Regions from separate parts of the Homo sapiens genome. Here region 1 is linked to region 2. The links are contacts of gene promoters, found by promoter capture Hi-C in blood cells and fetal thymus (Javierre and others, 2016). All regions are on one chromosome and are shown on one strand. Each heading gives the region's core, a stretch centred on a gene start or on the middle of the fragment in contact. The rest is flanking DNA. Distances are from core to core; before and after follow the strand shown.

What was found. Contacts are between HindIII fragments. The CHiCAGO score rates a contact against its expected background, and 5 or more counts as called.
Region 1: a fragment that was not itself captured here is called in contact with the fragment with the promoter of FBXL22 in region 2 in 2 of 17 cell types (total CD4 T cells and naive B cells); the score reaches 5.5 in total CD4 T cells.

The regions. Positions count from the first base shown.
Region 1 is chr15:64,116,269-64,122,186 of GRCh38, forward strand. SNX1 (sorting nexin 1) reads left to right here. Exons shown (of 15, transcript NM_003099.5): 3 at 1,849-1,976; 4 at 2,520-2,586. Among named protein-coding and RNA genes, the nearest start is that of SNX1, 23 kb to the left of the region's middle. The HindIII fragment of the contact is 1,582 bases long and covers 2,207-3,788 here.
Region 2 is chr15:63,595,182-63,598,913 of GRCh38, forward strand. It overlaps FBXL22 (F-box and leucine rich repeat protein 22), which reads left to right and starts at 2,206. Exons shown (of 2, transcript NM_001367807.1): 1 at 2,206-2,564. The coding sequence starts at 2,212. The region is part of intron 1 of USP3-AS1 (USP3 antisense RNA 1); the gene reads right to left. The HindIII fragment of the contact is 9,685 bases long and covers 1-3,732 here.

The sequences.
Region 1 (5,918 bases), core at 1,748-4,247, 520 kb after region 2:
TGAGTAAGTAGGCTAAGGCAGAGGAGGGGTTGGTCTTGCTGCCTCAGGGTGGCAGATGCAGAGGAAAATTCATGTATAAATGGACCCGTGCAGTTGAAACCTGTGTTGTTCAAGGGTCAACTGTACTTTTTTGCTTGTTTGTTTTATACTCCCACCCCAGAGTCAGATTATGTTACCACCTTTCTCACTTTCCTGATAGGGATCAGATTTCATTTCTAACAGTGTGGCACCCCTGTTTGCAGACTTGATTCACATTTAGTGATTAGAATACTGATCTGGGACTTGATTATGCTATAGGCATATATGCATAAACCATCATCTCTGGTTTCGTTTAGCCCCAAATGAAAAAGAAGCAGCAGCATTCTTTGTATTTCCTAAGATTAAGATAGAATACTTACTGATCAGACCAAACCCAAATTGACATTTATGTTTTCTGTTACTAAAAAAGAAAAAAAGTTTGGACTGTTTAGGCTTAGAGCATCTAGTTCCACTGCTCCAAGTTGAAAGTGCATTCTTTTTATTTGCATAAAAAATTTTAATGCCTAGAAATGGTACATAATGCTATTTTTAAAGTCCCTTCTCTGGAACACTGAGGGAATGAGTCGTTCTGTTCAACTGAGTACTCCCCAGATAGACAAAGGCAGCCCTTAAGCACTGTTTTTTAAACTGTTTTGAGTAGGAAGATTTTCAGATATTACATGTCTTTTTTCACAAATTGGATAGCATATAGTAAGTATAATTTAACCTTTACAAGGAGATCTAAACCATTAGGAAAAATTCTTAAACCATGACAAAATAACAGTGCTGTCATCAGGTGTGGAAAAGTGCCCTTTCCCAAATGTTACTGTGCTTGTGTCTTGGCTCCATTTTTTTCTAGCTTATAGCTTTCCTGACACTTGCTTTGACGTCATTTTTTTCCTGTCAGTATGCCTGCCTCTTCTATCATATTGGTGTGTAAAGCAAATATCTGAACTTCTTTTACAAGCAATTTTTTTTCTTTTTTGGAGACAGAGTCTCCCTCTGTTGCCCAGGCTGAAGTGCAGTGGCGCGATCTCGGCTCACTGCAACCTCTGCCTCCCCAGTTCAAACAATTCTCCTGCCTCAACCTCCCAGTAGCTAGGACTACAGGCTCAGGCCACCACACCTGGCTACTGTTTTTTTGTATTTTTAGTAGAGACGGGGTTTCACCATGTTGCCCAGGGTGGTTTTAAACTCCTGAGCTCAGGCAGTCCTCCCACCTTGGCCTCCCAAAGTGCTAGGATTACAGGCATGAGCCGCCACGCCCAGCCTTTTACAAACAATTATAACAAGAATAAATAGGGCTCATATAATGTTCTAAAGGAATACTCCGAAGATTAAAATTGACAGACTAAATTAGCTGGCTGTGGTGGTATGCACCTGTAGTACCACCTATTCAGGAGGCTGAGGCAGGAGAATCACTTGAACCTGCGAGGTGGAGGTTGCAGTGAGCCCAGATCGTGCCACTGCACTCCAACCTGGGTGACAGAGTGACACTCTGTCTAAAAAATAAATAAAATTGATAAACTTATTTTGGCTGTGTTGTCTTTTTGCTTATCCTTGGTTCTTGTATAAATTCTAGGTAGGAGAGGGTAGCCAAGTGGTTGTATTTGGAAAGAAGGAGAGGTTGTTCTACTAAGCCTGTGCTAGAAGAACACTTCCCTTACCTTCCTCCCCTTTTCTCCTTGTAAACATTTTATGACTTTCAGTCTAAGAGCCTCTATGTATTGAGAGTGCTTGCTATTGTTCTTGTAAGTTCTTAGCCTATACAAGTTTAGCCTTCAAAGACTCATTACTGACCTTCATTTTAAAATATCAACTTCATTTTAGATGCCACAGTGGAGCTATCCTTGGACAGCACACAAAATAATCAGAAGAAGGTGCTAGCCAAAACACTCATTTCTCTTCCTCCTCAGGAAGCCACAAATTCTTCGAAGCCCCAGCCAACCTATGAGGAGGTGAGGATCTGTGCTCTTGGTCTTATCGCTTTTAGATATTGAGGACTGTGTACGGCCAGTCTGAAGTGTAGTTGAGTATGAACCTTGAGAAAATATTTGTTACTCTTGAAGGAGATCTTTATGGTTAATGGACAGCCAGAATCCAATACAGGAGTCTTTCTTGAGCAGAGTATCTATTGCCCAGAGAGCACGAAGGCTTTCAGTGGTTACTAAAGATACTTAGTGTGCGAAGCTTCCACATTCAGGAGTATAGTTTCTCCTCACTCCCTTCCTAGCCTGCAAGAGGCAAGTCTTTCTAAATCTGGCAGTTATTCATTGTCATCAAAATAAGATTTTAAGGGGATACATGTAACAAAGACTTGTAAGCTGGCTCCTAATTTAAAATTTTGAGAGTTGGTACATTGGGATTGTTGGGAATGGACAAAAGCTGAACACTGAAGGATACATCTTGATTTTATTAGATTGGTATAAGGTTATTACAGGGTAAAATTGATAGCTTTTTTTTTCATATCAACTCTCATGATTTGTCTTTTCTTGAAAAAGCTAGAGGAAGAAGAACAGGAGGATCAATTTGATTTGACAGTCGGTATAACTGATCCTGAGAAGATAGGTAAGTGGTTCTTAGGACTCCTTGTGATGTTAGGATGTGGCTGTGGAAAGCATAGGTAGCTAATTTCAGGATGGCTACCCCCAGAGTTGAACTAGCCAATGTGAAGTACTTCATTAGTATCTTTTCTGTAAAAGTAGACCCCTTGCTATGTTTCTAAGGCCAGAGACTGCTGTTACTCAATGCGTTAGTCAGTCTTTTCTTGGCTTCAGGAAGAAAAATCAGAGTCATCAAATACTACTAGAATCCCTTTTTATTTTTATTCTTTTGGTTTTTTGTTTTTTAGAGACAAGGCCTCATTTTGTCACCCAGAATGGAGCACAGTAGCACTATCATAGCTCACTATCATCTCCAGCTCCTGGACTCAAGCAGTCCTCCCGCCTGAGCCACCCCAGCCGCCCAAGTAGCTGGGACTGCAGGCACGTGCTACCATGCCGACTAATTCTTTTTTTAAGAGATGGGGTCTTGCTATGTTGCCCAGGCTGGTCTCAAACTCCTGGCCTCAAGTGATCCTCCTGCCTTAGCCTCTTAAAGCACCGAGATTACAGGCATGAGCCACCGCACCCAGCTAGAGTCTCTTTTTAAAAACCCCAACAGGCCAGCCATGGTGGCTCACACCTGTAATCCCAGCACTTTGGGAGGCCAAGGCAGGCAGATCACTTGAGGTCAGGAGTTCAGCCAGGCCAACATGGTGAAACCCCATCTATACTAAAAATGCAAAAATTGACCAGGCATGGTGGTGTGCGCCTATAATCGCACCTACTCAGGAGGCTGAGGCCAGAGAATCGCTTGAACCCGGGAGGTGGAGGCTGCAGTGAGCTGAGATCATGCCACTGCCCTCCATCCTGGGTGACAGAGCAAGACTGTGTCTTAAAAAAAAAAAAAAACACACACACACACACAAAAAACATTATCTTCTCCTTCAGAGTTGATAAGACCATTTTACTGTCTTTTGAGATAGTAAATCCAATGTAAGCACCCTAAAAAATACATGTTCTAAAATTGAGGGACACTGAACTTATTTTTTCCCTCAAGAAGTTTGAAACTCTCATTTATACACATACTTTTGATAACCTTATGAGGTGGGGAAGTCTATCTGTGGGATCCAAGTTGAATTGTACTCAAAATTGAAGTTAGATCTTCAAAAAGCATAACACTTAACTTTGTCTGGACTTGGATTTTTAGGATGGCTTTCCCCTCTACCAAGCTTGCAAGAGTTATCCCTGAGTGGAGAACAATAGGCCTCATCTTTCCTTGTTCTAGCTATAGTCCCTTATGGAAGAGGCTATACAGAACCTGTCTTCCTAAACAGGAGTGGTGTTTATACAGTTAAGAGGACAAATGTAATTCTCAACTCTTGGTCTGTTTGGTACTAGGGACAGGAACTTGTTAGACTTTATGCCAAAATGGTTGTCTTTTTTTTTTTTTTTTTTTTTTTGAGACGGGGTCTCACTCTGTCACCCAGGCTGGAGTGCAGTGGTATGATCACAGCTCACTGCAGCCTCGACTTCCCCAGGCTCAGGTGATCCTTCCACCTCAGCCTCCTGAGTAGCTGGGACTACAGATGTGCATCACCATGCCTGGCTAATTTTTTTATATTTTTTGTAGAGACAGGGTTTCACCATGTTGCCTAACCTGGTCTCTGGCCAAAATGGTGGTCATTAAACTATTGATTTTAGGCCAGGTGCAGTGGCTTACATGTGTAATCCCAGCAGTTTGGAAGGCCAAGGCAGGAGGATCACTTGAACCCAGGAGTTCAGGACCAGCCTGCCCAACATGGCAAGACCATGACTCTACAAAAAGTAAAAAATTAGCCCTGTCTCTACAAAAAAATAAAAAATTACAGAGGCATGGCGGTACATGCCTGTAGTCCCACGTACTTGGGAGGCCGAGGTGGGAGGATCATTTGAGCCTGGAAGGTCAAGGCTGCAGTGAGCTGAGGTAATACTACTGCACTCCACGTTGGGTAACAGAGTGAGATCCTGTCTCAAAAAGAAAAAAAATTTTTTTTTAATTTGAACTGTTGAGTTTTACTTTTCCCAGACTGTTGGACTGGTAGGATGTTTTTGAGCGTCTTACACAGTTCTGTCATCTAACAGAAAAGGAAATTGAGGACCAAAAAGGAAGTAGCTTTCCTGGTAGGGCACAGTGTGGCCCATGATAGATCCTGGACCAGGACTTTGGATTATATGTCTAGATTCTCTCTTGCTTCTCTAATATTTATGGATAGTCTATAAACACATTAATTTTAAGCTAGTTATTCACCGCTTTAAATCCTTGGTGGAATAAGATGAATGAATGGCACTTATTCTCTTAAAATGTAATAAGTCATGATGTCTGAACCAGGAGAGGGAACATACTGGTTTCCTAAGGCTGCTGTAGCAAAGTACCACAAACTGGTTAAAACAACAGAAATTTCTCACAGTTTTGGAGGCCAGAAATCTCAAATCCTGGTGTCGGCAGGCCATTCTCCCTGTGAAGGTGCTAGGGAAGGACTGTTCATGCCTCTCTCCCAGCTTCTGGCAGTCTCAGGCCTTCCTCGGCTTGTCGATGCATCACTTCAGTCTCTGCCTTTGCTGTCATGTGGCATCCTTCCTAAGCGTCTCCACATTGCCTTCCCTCTATGCATGTCTATCTCTGTGTGCACATTCCCTCTTTAACAAATAAGGACACCAACCTGAGTGGAGTAGGGCCCACCCTAATGTCTTCATTTTAACTCAGTTACATCGGTAAAGACCCTGTAAGATCACATTCTGAGGAACTGGGAGTTAGAACGTAAAATGTACCTATTTTGAAGGGGACACAATTTATCCCATTACAGAGAGTAATTTAAACAGCCCATGGATCAGATGCATTTAAACACAAATCACTCTTGGTGATAAGTTTTCACCTCCTTGCCCTGTAGTCTAGATTCTTAGTCATGTTGATGCCAAGAAACCAGCTAATTAAAATATTTTCATATTCAAGGCCTGATCTTTATAACAACGCATTCTGTTTGTGTGGGCTGTTTATTCAACATGTGCTTCTTGTTCCTGCACACGTCTAAATAATTTAGAATTCAACTTTTACCAGGATATGCTTTTTAGAGCCTTGGTAATTTGCATATGTTATCTTCAACTCTGAAATTATTCTGGAAATTTACGTAAATTTAAAACCTTGTATTACTAGCTTATTTGCAGATCTGTGTGCTCTCTATGTACATGCAGTATGTCTCTTTTCATGTACATTGCCTAAGTAAAAGCAGCTGAGAAACAAAATATCTGAAGATCCTGCTTTTCTGTTTTCTCTGTGTTTGCATTTAGACTTTCTTAACTGCAGGCACTAAATTATGGGAT
Region 2 (3,732 bases), core at 956-3,455:
GTTCCGTAGGGCACATTCTTTTGGCAGCTGTGCTGGTCAGAGGCTGCGTGGTTGCTGTCACTGCTGCCAAACAGCATAGCTCTGGACAAGCCCAAAGGGGCAGAGCTTCGTCATCTCCTGGCTGTGCCTCAGACCCTCTGCAGCATGCAGGAGCACATTCCCCCTGGCCCTGGTAGTCTAGGATGCTTCCTGCAGCCTACCTGGAGGAACAGCAGAGGGGCAATGCTCTAAATGTTCTCCCTGCCAATCTTTTGCCATTCCAGCTGGGCTGCAGTAGTGCAACTTGGAAGCCATGCTGAAGCACAGTGACACTTACTCAGTGGAAGGCACAAGTACCACTCTGGCCTTGCAAGAAGTGGAAAGAACCACCTATTCCTAAGGGTCAAACCCTCTGAAAAGCATTGGTTTGAGGAGGATTGGGGAGGGAAAGTGGAGATAATGTGGCTTTCTAATAACACCACCTGTGGTTTTGCAGCATCCATTTTAAGTGGAGAAGTACACCTAGACAGAGCCTAAATTAGGGTGTCAGCTATAATTCAGAACTACATTGATGAGCTTGAAATAGCAGCAGTATCTTGCTCCCCTTCCTTGGGAAATGCTTCCTTTCGACCTCCTTGGTTTGTTTTTAAGAGAACCCCCTACTGTACTTCATCTTGGCATGGTGGAGTAATGGAGGCACAGGGGCACCAGCTGAGGCTGGCTTCTCAGGAAAGCCACTGACAATGGCTACTTCCTTCTTTGCTTGACTGCCTTCTGCTTTAAAGGCAAAGCTGCACCAGCCCTGACCAAACCTTAGTTCCAGAAGTGGGTTCAGCATAGGCTGCTTCATTTGTGTCTATGGGAAAACACAAGGATTCCCATTCCCTCTTATTCCAAATGGGAGAACAAACAGAAGTAACCACTGAGGTGGTGGTCCCTGGGCTGGCAGAGGAAAAACCATTCTCTTCTCACTATTGCCTAGGCAGAACGTGGCCTATACAGCTGCACCATATCAGCATCCCCCAAGCAAACCAAAAAACAACGACTGGGATTCAAAGCAGGAGAGTTAAGGTTGGGTCCTGGGTTTGGGAGTGAAGCAGCATGAGGAAACGGGTCTGCCATATCGTGAAGCCTCGGGTACTCAGGAAGGGGGAGCTTCACGGATAGTACCTCCAGGCACCTTGCCTAGAGTTGAGTCAGAGAGGGCAGGGGTGGCCCACTGGCTTCTCCAAGAGGGAACGGAGGGCACTCATAGAATGGATGGTGTGTGGTCAACTTAAAGGCAAAGATGGACTAAAATACTGAACTTAAAATTGTTTCAAGCAGTTTCACATTAAGAGCTACCTCATCCATCCTGACATTTTGGGAAGTACAGGTTATACATAGTACAAGGCCTTATCAGTGAGAAAATGTAAAGCCAAGTAAATTTAAATTTAAAACACAGAAAGTACTGCTTGACCAAAACTACAAAAACAACAACAACAACAACAAAGCACCAATAAAACATAAAACACAGACACACAACTTTGGAAAGCAGCTACTTCAGTAAAATTCTTTTATGAAACAACTCAGGGTAAAAATCTAGCTGTTGGGGAGGCCCAGGAAAATCCCCCTGCCTAGTGGCAGGCAGCAGGGCTTGAAGGCCAACCAGCCTAGCCTGGAGACAATTACTCTATGGCACAAAAATAACAGGAATGAGGCAGCAGCCATGGACTCTGCTCACAACTCACAACCGTCACCCTTAGCTCTCCACACGCAACAGGTTTCTTCCTAGTAAGGGTGGAGCAAAAGATTCACACTGATGTACTAGAAAATCAAAACAGTTAACATTTACAATTACACTCCTTCCCCCTAAGTACAGACTGCAAAGCCAGACAGAGCTGGCCTGGCCGCCACCACTGCCAATGAAAACGCCTTGGGAAAAGCCAAAAGTGCTCACTGCTAAACACCATTGTCAGCTAAAGGGAAAAAAAAAATCCCTTTTAAGGAAAGTAACTTCAATAGGCTCCTTTTCTGCCAGGACCTCCAATCCCTCTGAACATAAGCCGAACCACAGACTGCCGCACATGTGTCTGGGTCCTGGCTTTTCTTCCCTCACCCCTCCGCAGAGCTTCAGCACCAGTTGTTAGCCAAAAATAAACACCATTCCTCAACCATATATGTCCACCGGCCCAGAGTCGGGGAGGAGGAGAGGAGGCAGGTCAGCCGTCCCCCGGCTGCAGCTGCACTCACATGTGGCCACTGCTCACCATGCACATAACCCAGCTCAACCGGGAGTGCCTGCTGCACCTCTTCTCCTTCCTAGACAAGGACAGCAGGAAGAGCCTTGCCAGGACCTGCTCCCAGCTCCACGACGTGTTTGAGGACCCCGCACTCTGGTCCCTGCTGCACTTCCGTTCCCTCACTGAACTCCAGAAGGACAACTTCCTCCTGGGCCCGGCACTCCGCAGCCTCTCCATCTGCTGGCACTCCAGCCGCGTGCAGGTGTGCAGCATTGAGGACTGGCTCAAGAGTGCCTTCCAGAGAAGCATCTGCAGCCGGCACGAGAGCCTGGTCAATGATTTCCTCCTCCGGGTGTGCGACAGGTAGGCCACCTTGCCTCCTGAGCAGTGCTGGCCCCGCTAGCTCTGGCTTCCCTCTTGGGGGGCAGGGAAGAGCAAATTACGAGACCAAGATGGCTCCACCTTCGGGGCGCCTCAAACTAGGCCCAAGGCAGACATCCAGACCGCCCAAAGCAGGGTCCCCAGGAGACAATAAAATCATGAGGGAAACAATTGCTAATCCTCCTCTTAGCCTCACAGGTCCTGGGCTGCTTCATGCAAACACCAAGAAGTGGGGCCTCCGTACTGGTAGTCATTAAGTGCTGGGTGGGTCCAGCTGGGCCTGGATTTTCAAGGTCAGGCTCTGGGAAAAGGCTTCCAGATGCAGCAATCAGCTCACCCCTCCATTAGGCCTAGCAAGCAGCCCTCAAGGCCTGGGAAACTACGGAGGAAAGAGAGGGTGGGGAGCCAGAGGTGGAGAAGCCAGGGTGCTCAGGTCAGCTGAGCCAAACCAGACTCCAGGAGTAGATGAATTACTGATTTACACAGTATTCCTAAGGAGGGTGGCTTAGCCTAATTTTTCAAATTAGCAAACTGATGCTCCACGAGGTGGTATGATTTGCCCAGTCTAGGGTTGCCAGATTTTAGCAAATATATAGGCTGCCCAGTTAAATATGAATTTCAGATAAACAGTGAATAATATTTTAGTGTAAGTATGTCCCAAATACATCTTGTGTTTATCTGCTAACCCCCACCCCAGACACAGACATAGACACTGAACCACCAGGCCAGGCTCCCTCCATGGTCCCAGCCTCATGGGCAGAGCGGCCCAGGCAAGAACACAGAGCTATTCAACCAGCCTCTCACTGAGCTTCTGCCAGTCCCGTGCTGCCTTTGAGGAAAAACACCCCCTTGATCATATAACAAACTGGCCCTGGCTGTTCATGGAAAACTAGACTCAGCCAGTTTACTGCCACCCAAGTTCATAGCTGCTATTTGCTGGCAGCACGACAGGAGTGGAAGGAAACAGCGTAGTGACCCCACCTTTCTTTTGAGCTGGTAGGAAGAAAACAGAAGATGGACTTGGGGTTGGGCCCCGACTGGACAAGGCTATTTTGATGGGCTTAACAAGGCCCAGGAATTAGACTAGAGTGACATGGGTGGGGGTTGGGGGGAGGCGAATGGCACAACATGTCCTGAAGTTGTTCCATTC